Regions from separate parts of the Homo sapiens genome. Here region 2 is linked to region 1. Evidence: promoter capture Hi-C in human tissues and cell types (Jung and others, 2019). All regions are on one chromosome and are shown on one strand. The core of a region is centred on a gene start or on the middle of the fragment in contact, and the rest is flanking DNA. Distances in the headings are between cores, read along the strand shown. Region 1 holds the start of ADAM12 (ADAM metallopeptidase domain 12). Region 2 overlaps DHX32 (DEAH-box helicase 32 (putative)).

Region 1 (3,885 bases), core at 349-2,848:
CAGGATTCTTTCTTGACTTTCTCATTGCTTTGTGCAATCTTTGTATTTAATCATTTATCCCCGAATTGGTCTTCGCAGTGTGGCTTTTAACAAGAACTGGGTTTTAGCCACATTACAGTAGACGCGGTGGGGGCGGAGGGCAGCAGTGGCAATCGCAAAATAAAACGTATCATAAAGTGGTAACGGTTCGTGATTTAGGCCAGTTGTTGAAAAATAAATGCCTGTTATATAGAATCACAGAACTTGAGAGCTTGCGGCCAAGGGAAGTCGTTCATCGGTGGACCGACAGCGCCCCGGGCGGCAGAAAGAAGGCGGCGGCGGCGGAGACCCGGGGAAGTTGCCGGATTTTTAAAAAGGCACCTGCTGGGTGAGTCCTCACTGTGCAAACGGGAGCCACAGGTGCCCGATTTTAAGGGGCTACAACTCGGGAAAACCTAAGTCTGTAAAACTAAGTACGTTAAACTAAGTAAGTTCTCGCTGTGCACCAAGTTGATGGGGGCGATTATTTACGGCGGAGAAACTGAGTGGAGGAAGGAGGGAGAATTCCGCTAAAGTTTGCCTGCGACTGACAGCTAGGGAGTGACCTGGAAGCCAGGAAGAGGGGCAGAGAGGAAACTAAAGAAGTAGGTAAGAGAGTCAGTTTATGAAAATAGAGCCTGCTGTGGAGAGCAGCAGGCACACCTGCGGAGGAGGGGGCTGCCTCACCTGCGGGGCCGCTGCGCGCCCCCCTAAGTGTGTTAGCGGGGGAGGCGGGGCTGGAAAGGAAACCTGGTGAAGGGCTGGCCCGGAGCCTGGGGTGGGGATATTCACTGCGGGATAGGGCCAGCAAGAGGACCCGACACGCATCGTCCCGAGTGACACGTGTAAATGTCAAGATACAGAGACATCTGCAAATGTCACCCAAGAGGGTGAGGACGGGGGAGCGGTCCCGAGGCTGTGCCCTCCGGGGCAGGTACTGGCTCCTGTGGGGCTGCGGGCCAAGTGTCGCCCTTCCCCAAGGAATTGGCACCTGGGGGGGGGGGGTCGGTCTCGCCGCGCTGGAAGCGCAAGCCCCGGGGCTCCGGAGATGCGCCGGGGCGCGTCGCCCCTCGGGGCAGCCCTGGACCTCGGCGCGCCCAGGCGCAGCGTGCGGTGCCCTCGGCGGGGCGGGCAGCGAGCCGCCCTAGTTCGGCGACTTACCTCGGGCCTCGCAGGGCGCGAGCAGAGCACCGGCCAGGGCGAGCAGGAGGGCGCGGGCGGGGGACACGGGCAGCGGGCGCGCTGCCATCGTCGCCGGCCTTCAGTGCAGCAGCTCTCGGGCCCGGCGGCGAGCGCTGCACCATCCCACGCGGGCGCCGAGCCGGGGCCGGGCGTCGCGACCGGAGGGATTTCCTGCCTCGGCGAGTCAGCTCCGGAGCCCTCGCGCAGCGCCCGCGCCGCCGCTGAGCTCTTCTAGCCTTTCATTTTTAAAAAAGTTTCCCCCCGTGTGTGTGCGTGCGTGCGCGCGCGCGCGCCGTTCTGGCACAAGCCAGCCTTGACCGTTGCAATAAATGAGCAAACTGTCCGAGTTGGCCCGGGGACTAGGAAGAGCGTTAGTGAGAGAAGGCAGGCCTGTGAAATGGATCCACGGCCAGCAGTCACCGTTCTTATTACCGCGGAACAAATTATTGTCTCCCCCGCACCCCCGCCAGTTGGCGGCGTCCCGCGGGTCCTAGAGACCGCTCGGGTCCCCCCGCCAGGGTCCCGCCCCGAGCCGCGGCTCGCTCACCCCCGAGGGTGGGCGGCTCAGACGTGGCTCAGTGGCGTCCGGGCGCCCGGAGCGCACACGTCCCCGCCCCAGGATGATGTGGCCGCAGGGCCCGGGGCGCCCGGCTGCCAAGCGCACATGCGGCGGCACGGTCCAGCTTTTCAGGCTGAAGCTGGAAACGATGACTCTGCTACTCGCTCCCCGGCTCTCTGGGAACCCTCGGAGTGCGGGTCAGGTCTCCACCGCGGCCCACAGCCCGGCGCGCGACCCCGCCCGGCCCTAAGCGCCCAAAGGGGCATCTCTCGCCCGAGAAACAAGCTTGGACTCGCAGGCACAAGACACCTGGGCGTTACTTTTGATCAACAGTGTTAGGTTTTACGTTGATAGATTGGCTCACGTTTCCATTCCATGACCTGGACCCAGAAAAGGGTGTACAGTGACGTTCCCCAAACTTTCCTGATTGTAAGAAGCACCTGGGTTGGCTTGTTAAAAAGATTCCCGGGCGCCCTCCTACGCTTTCAGAATGAGACTCTCCAGGCTGTGAGGCCAGGGGAGCCCAGGGTGTTTGGAGAAACACCAATGAAAGAATGGTGCGCCTTGCCTTCTCATCCTTGTTCCGGGCTGACCCCACCTCTTCAGCCTCGCTCGGCCCTCAGGGAGACCATGAAAAGCAGCAGCGAGGGGGCCCGCACAGACAGAAATGGCTGGAGCTATGGAGGATGGCTGATGCCCACCCTGCGGGTTACCATGATTCCCAACCTTGGGGACTTATTAGAATAGTAAGAGTTAAAGACATTGCCAGCCCCAGACACCAGTTAACTCAGTTTCCCACAATGCGTGGAGCTCAATAGTTTTCAAAGCCTCAGGTGATTCTACTGTGCTGCTCAGACCTAGGACCACCTGCAGAAATTCCATCCTGGTCCTGCGACCTCGCACCGATTCCTGACGGAGCACCCACTCCTAGGAGGCGGTTATCCAGCATTTGAGGAAGCTGCCTTCCATACCATCTCTTCCCACTGCAGAGGAGTTTTCTCAGGAGTTCCCTCCCACGGCAGGTTTTGCAGTGTTCCCAAAACCCAGGTCGATCCTCCTAACAAGGTGCAGGACTTTCTTTTTAAAAAACCTTAGTGGGAAGCACAGGCTCTCCAGCCCCCTTCCCAATGCTGCCATATCTCAGTACCAGATCTGGAAACCAGGCCTGGTTCAAGCCCTGTGTCATATCTAACCGTACTACCAACCAGCGTTGCAGTGTACTTCTTTTGTTCATTCATTCAGTCAATCTACATGAGCAACCCTATGTTAGAACTTGGGAAACTAAACGAGAAAGCCTCTTGCCTTCAAAGACTTTTCTTTCTGATCAAACTGATAAATCATCATTATTGGACAGTGTGAGCTAGTTACTTAACCTAGTTAATAATGATTAGGCTTGTTTACTGATATGGTTTGGCTGTGTCCCCACCCAAATCTCATCTTGAATTCCCATGTGTTGTGGGAGGGACCTGGTGGGAGGTAATTGAATCATGGGGGCAGGTCTTTCCTGTGCTGTTCTCATGGTAGTGGATAAGTCTCAAAAGATCTGATGGTTTTAAAAAGAGGAGTTCCCCTCCACAAGCTCTCTCTCACTTTCTGCCTGCTACCATCCATGTAAGACATGACTTGCCCCTTCATGTCTTCTGCCCTAGCCATGTGGAAATGTAGGTCCATTAAACGTTTTTCCTGTATAATTTTACCCAGTCTTGTGTATGTCTTTATCAGCAGCACGAAAACAGACTATTTACTACTTCATAATTCATTACATACCTCGTATAATCGGAGTATTGTGCTAACGTCTTTCACCTGCATTATTTCATTTTTTAAGTCCTGAATATACAGATGAGGAAACTGCAGCATAGAGATGTAGCTTTCCCACCACCACACAGTGAAGTAGGTCAGAGCCCAACCTCAGATCTGTTAAAGATAAAGCCTGTTTCTTTAAGGCTGAGTTCCAACCTTCAGTTTTAGCAGCTGTTAAGTGAAGGTAAAATACAAACCTCCCAGGTGGTTGTGAGCACCAGGTGAAATAATGCAATGTCTCCCAACCCACCTGATCCCTGGGATGTCTGTTAAGAATTCAATTCCTCTGGCGTTTGCACTGGAGATTCTCATTAGAAAGGTCTGGG
Region 2 (3,885 bases), core at 499-2,998, 520 kb before region 1:
TGAGTGGAAAGATGGATAAGGACATCATAATAATTGAAAAGAAGAGAGAGAAAGGCTTGGGCTTAGTGCTAAGCATGGGAGAGAGGTAATAAAACCACGGGAAAATTACTGCAAAGGAAGAATAAGCAGTGCCCACTAACAGACTAATTATGCATAGGAAGAAGACAAATATTCTATGATTTCTAACTTAAAATACTAATTATATAATTGACAAGAACAGGAAATTGGAAAGTAAAATAAAATAAATGAATGAAGCTAAAGAGCAGCATAAAGTTCTTTTGGGGGGAATCAGGAGTTAGGAGGGTAGGAAGATGACCTTCAGGATAGTCAGGAAGATGGTCAATGTTATCAGAAGAACATCCAGGCATAACCATCCTGGGATCAACGGAAAAGCAAGGCAGGAGGCTAAGGGAGAGGTCAGAGCTAGAGATAGGCATGGTAGTTGCAGAATTTCAGTACTGAAAGAAATCTCTGGAAGACATGAAGGCCAACACCCTCATTTGATGCATGAGGAAAGAAACTTAGAGGCGTGACTTGTCCAAGGTCATACTGCCAGTAAACAGCATGACCAGAACCAATCCATATCTTCTAGTTTCTTGGCGAGTATAATTGCCACTACATCACAGTTGCTTCTAAGCATCTTTATAGAAAGGTGGCAACTGAAGCCATGAAATTCTCAGGCAATCAGCATTTTAAATTACTCTTTCTAGGCTGGGTGCGGTGGCTCACATCTGTAATCTCAGCACTTTGGGAGGCCAAGGCGGGTGGATTATTTGAGAGGTCAGGAGTTTGAGGCTAACCTGGCCAACGTGACGAAACCCCATCTCTATTAAAAATACAAAAATTAGCCAGGCGTGGTGGTGGGTGCCTGTAATCCCAGCTACTCGGGAGGCTGAGGCAGGAAAATCACTTGAACCCGGGAGGCGCAGGTTGCAGTGAGCTGAGATCACACCACTGCACTCCAGCCTGGGCAACAGAGCGAGACTCTGTCTCAAAAAAATAAAAAATAAAAATAAATAAATAAACTACTCTTTCTAGCCTAATGGCAACATCAGGGGGACAGTACTATGATGACAGTGGGCACTGCTTTACATAGCTAGAATCGTTGCTGAAATAATACTATCCAGTTTTATTAAAACATTTGGACACGTTCAGCCTGGTTATTCATATAAGGTCCAGGACAGCTGCTTTCGAACTCTAAAATTCGACAAGATTCCAATGATCATGAGCCATGTTCTCAAGCTTCTGATTTGGGCCTTTTTTAAAAACTGCATTTAATTTATTTCTCTTTGCTCATGAAACACATTCTGCAAGATTAGTTTATTACAGTGTGTTGATAATAGTATAAACATTATACATTCCTGGAAGTACAACAAATATACCAATCCAACAGTCTTCATTTTCCTTTTCTGCCTTCCTCTACATTAGAGCAAACTATTTCACCTATGAGGCAAAGACATTAATTCAGAAATGGGAAAAGGCCATCTAAATATCAGTTACAATAACCAGTAGAAGACTGAACATATCCATATCGTGCTTAATGTAGGAATGTTTGCTTACGTGCCCAAGTTAATAGTTGAGCAGAAGTCACAACAAATTATACTGCACGTACTCAACTGTGGCTCTGACCACATAGGATGCAGCTCCCCTTCCAGTAACAGCTACTTGGAGATAGTTAACAGTAAGCAATGCAAACACAAACTGAAAAGGTTATCTCCAGCCAGAAAAGAGGGAAACATGAAACCATCTGCCTTATTTGTTAGAGTTCTCCAGTTTTACATGCCTTCTGAATCACTCTGGGCAAGCTAAGTAACATACTGAGGGTTGATTCCTTAGCAAACTTGAATTACTGGCTAAAAAATGTTATCATTTGGCAAATGTCGATAATTTGAGTATTTCACATTTCAAGGGATACTGAGATTGCAGCTTTACAAAGAACTCTTGCCTTCTCTGCATTTATAGTAAATATTGTATCTCTTGTTGGTATTGACCTTTCTTCCCCTAGTTCTGCTTCTTTTCTTTTTTTTTTTTTTTTTGAGATGGAGTCTCACTCTTGTTGCCCAGGCTGGAGTGCAATGGCAGGATCTTGGCTCACTGCAACCTCCGCCTCCCGGGTTCAAGCAATTCTCCTGCCTCAGCGTCCCAAGTAGCTGGGATTACAGGCACGCACCAGCACACCTGGCTAATTTTGTATTTTTAGTAGAGACGAGGTTTCTCCATGCTGGTCAGGCTGGTCTCCAATTCCCAACCTCAGGTGATCCGCCCGCCTCGGCCTCCCAAAGTGCTGGGATTACAGGTGTGAGCCACAACACCTGGCCTAACTTTTCTGGGTACTACTTAGCAACTTTTTCATTGTCCCAGTTGCATCTTTGTCTTCTCACCAATGACTTACAAGCCTGTTAGAGGTTTTGTTTCTACCCCATAGTTCCTCTTTGGAAGATATTCCCCCCTAGTATTAAAAAACATTATTCTGGATGGACTAGTTGCCAAGTTGGCACTATGGGAATTAGAAAAGCTTAAATAGTTGTACCTTTCTATGAATCATTTGGCTTTAACTTTTTTCAGAGAAACATTGAATTCTGGGTCACTTTGTGACTGAGTACTTAGCAAAAGTTGCACAATATGGTGAAGAAACAGAAAATTGCTCCTCTAACACATAAAAAAAGCTATTTTCATGTGATTTATCCTGGGAGTTTGGTGATGTGCAACCCTTGGATTTACGCATTTGGTCTGGAAATGCTCCCTAACTAGAAATCAATACTTCACATCTCTTTATTCTGAACTCACCAAATACTTTTTTCATGTTTCTCAATCCATTTTCTAAATTCAGTTTTCTGTACTTCTGATGTGCCATTTGCATAAAGCCAGAGCAGTGGGGCCTGCCCTATGCTCTGTCCCAAAGCCCAGCTGGAACTGACTCTGGGGCATGCAAGGTAAGCAATCGAGGCATGAGAATGTGCATCCCTGGCCTCTTACCGCCTACCTGAAAGGAAATCACCAACACTCTGGCCAATCTGCTGCTATGAGAGTAGGTAAGAGGAGTCCTCCGGGTAATCAAAATCTAATCTAAATCAAGGCTTTATCAACCTAAGTTAGCAACTGCAGTTCTACAACTTGTACAAATTCAGACAGTGAGGCAAAGATGCTCCATTCCCAACTCCGGGCAGCACACAGAGGTTGGGCTGCTGGGTAGTGGGAGAGCTGGGGCCTGGGGTCTTTAGGGTGGGCTGCAGGGAGATCTCCTATAAGAATCTGCAACCAGATCCAGATCAGAATCAAGGGAGCAGCAGCGGCATCACGTATCCGTGTATGGTCTCATCACTGCCACTGTGGCAAGAGGACCTCCACATGAGCTACACTGGTGTAGAACTTTCTGTCCTTTCCATCTACTGCCAGTGATTGTTTCACCTCATCTAATGGATAATAAAGTTAGTTAACTATAATTTAATATAGTTAAATGAGAATAAATGAAGTGAGAAAAAAAGGACCTCCATGAGACACAATGCTATTACTGTTCTGTTAGACACATACTAGTCCCAAAGGCCTCTAATCCCTCACTTTTGATCATCAGGACGTCCATCAGGGCCTGAGTCCTCTTCTGCTTTCTTCTCTTAATGTCTCTAGGACCACCAATCCTGAAGCTACTGCCAAGGTCCCAATCACTCCCTTTAATTTCAGTACCAGAAAAACAGAATCTACAAGTTTAAAGGAATCTAAAGAACCACCAATTCACCCAAAGGTGAATTCAACACATTCAGTGTTGAATTCATCAGCACAAGCTCATGGTTTTTAAGTTTGCAAGTCTTAATGGTTTCAACAACATTCCTGTAAAATGCCTAGCCTGAGTATGCCCCTAAGGCAGCTATCCCACCCAAAGTGAGCCAA

What was found. Contacts are between HindIII fragments. The study calls those that stand out against the background at their distance.
Region 2: a contact is called between a fragment that was not itself captured here and the fragment with the promoter of ADAM12 in region 1, in 2 of the 25 tissues and cell types used here (H1 embryonic stem cells and dorsolateral prefrontal cortex).

Annotation. Positions count from the first base shown.
Region 1 is chr10:126,386,879-126,390,763 of GRCh38, forward strand. ADAM12 (ADAM metallopeptidase domain 12) reads right to left here and starts at 1,599. Exons shown (of 23, transcript NM_001288973.2): 1 at 1,180-1,599. The coding sequence starts at 1,267. The HindIII fragment of the contact is 8,947 bases long and covers 1-3,127 here.
Region 2 is chr10:125,869,844-125,873,728 of GRCh38, forward strand. The region is part of intron 1 of DHX32 (DEAH-box helicase 32 (putative)); the gene reads right to left. Among named protein-coding and RNA genes, the nearest start is that of DHX32, 9.5 kb to the right of the region's middle. The HindIII fragment of the contact is 3,346 bases long and covers 76-3,421 here.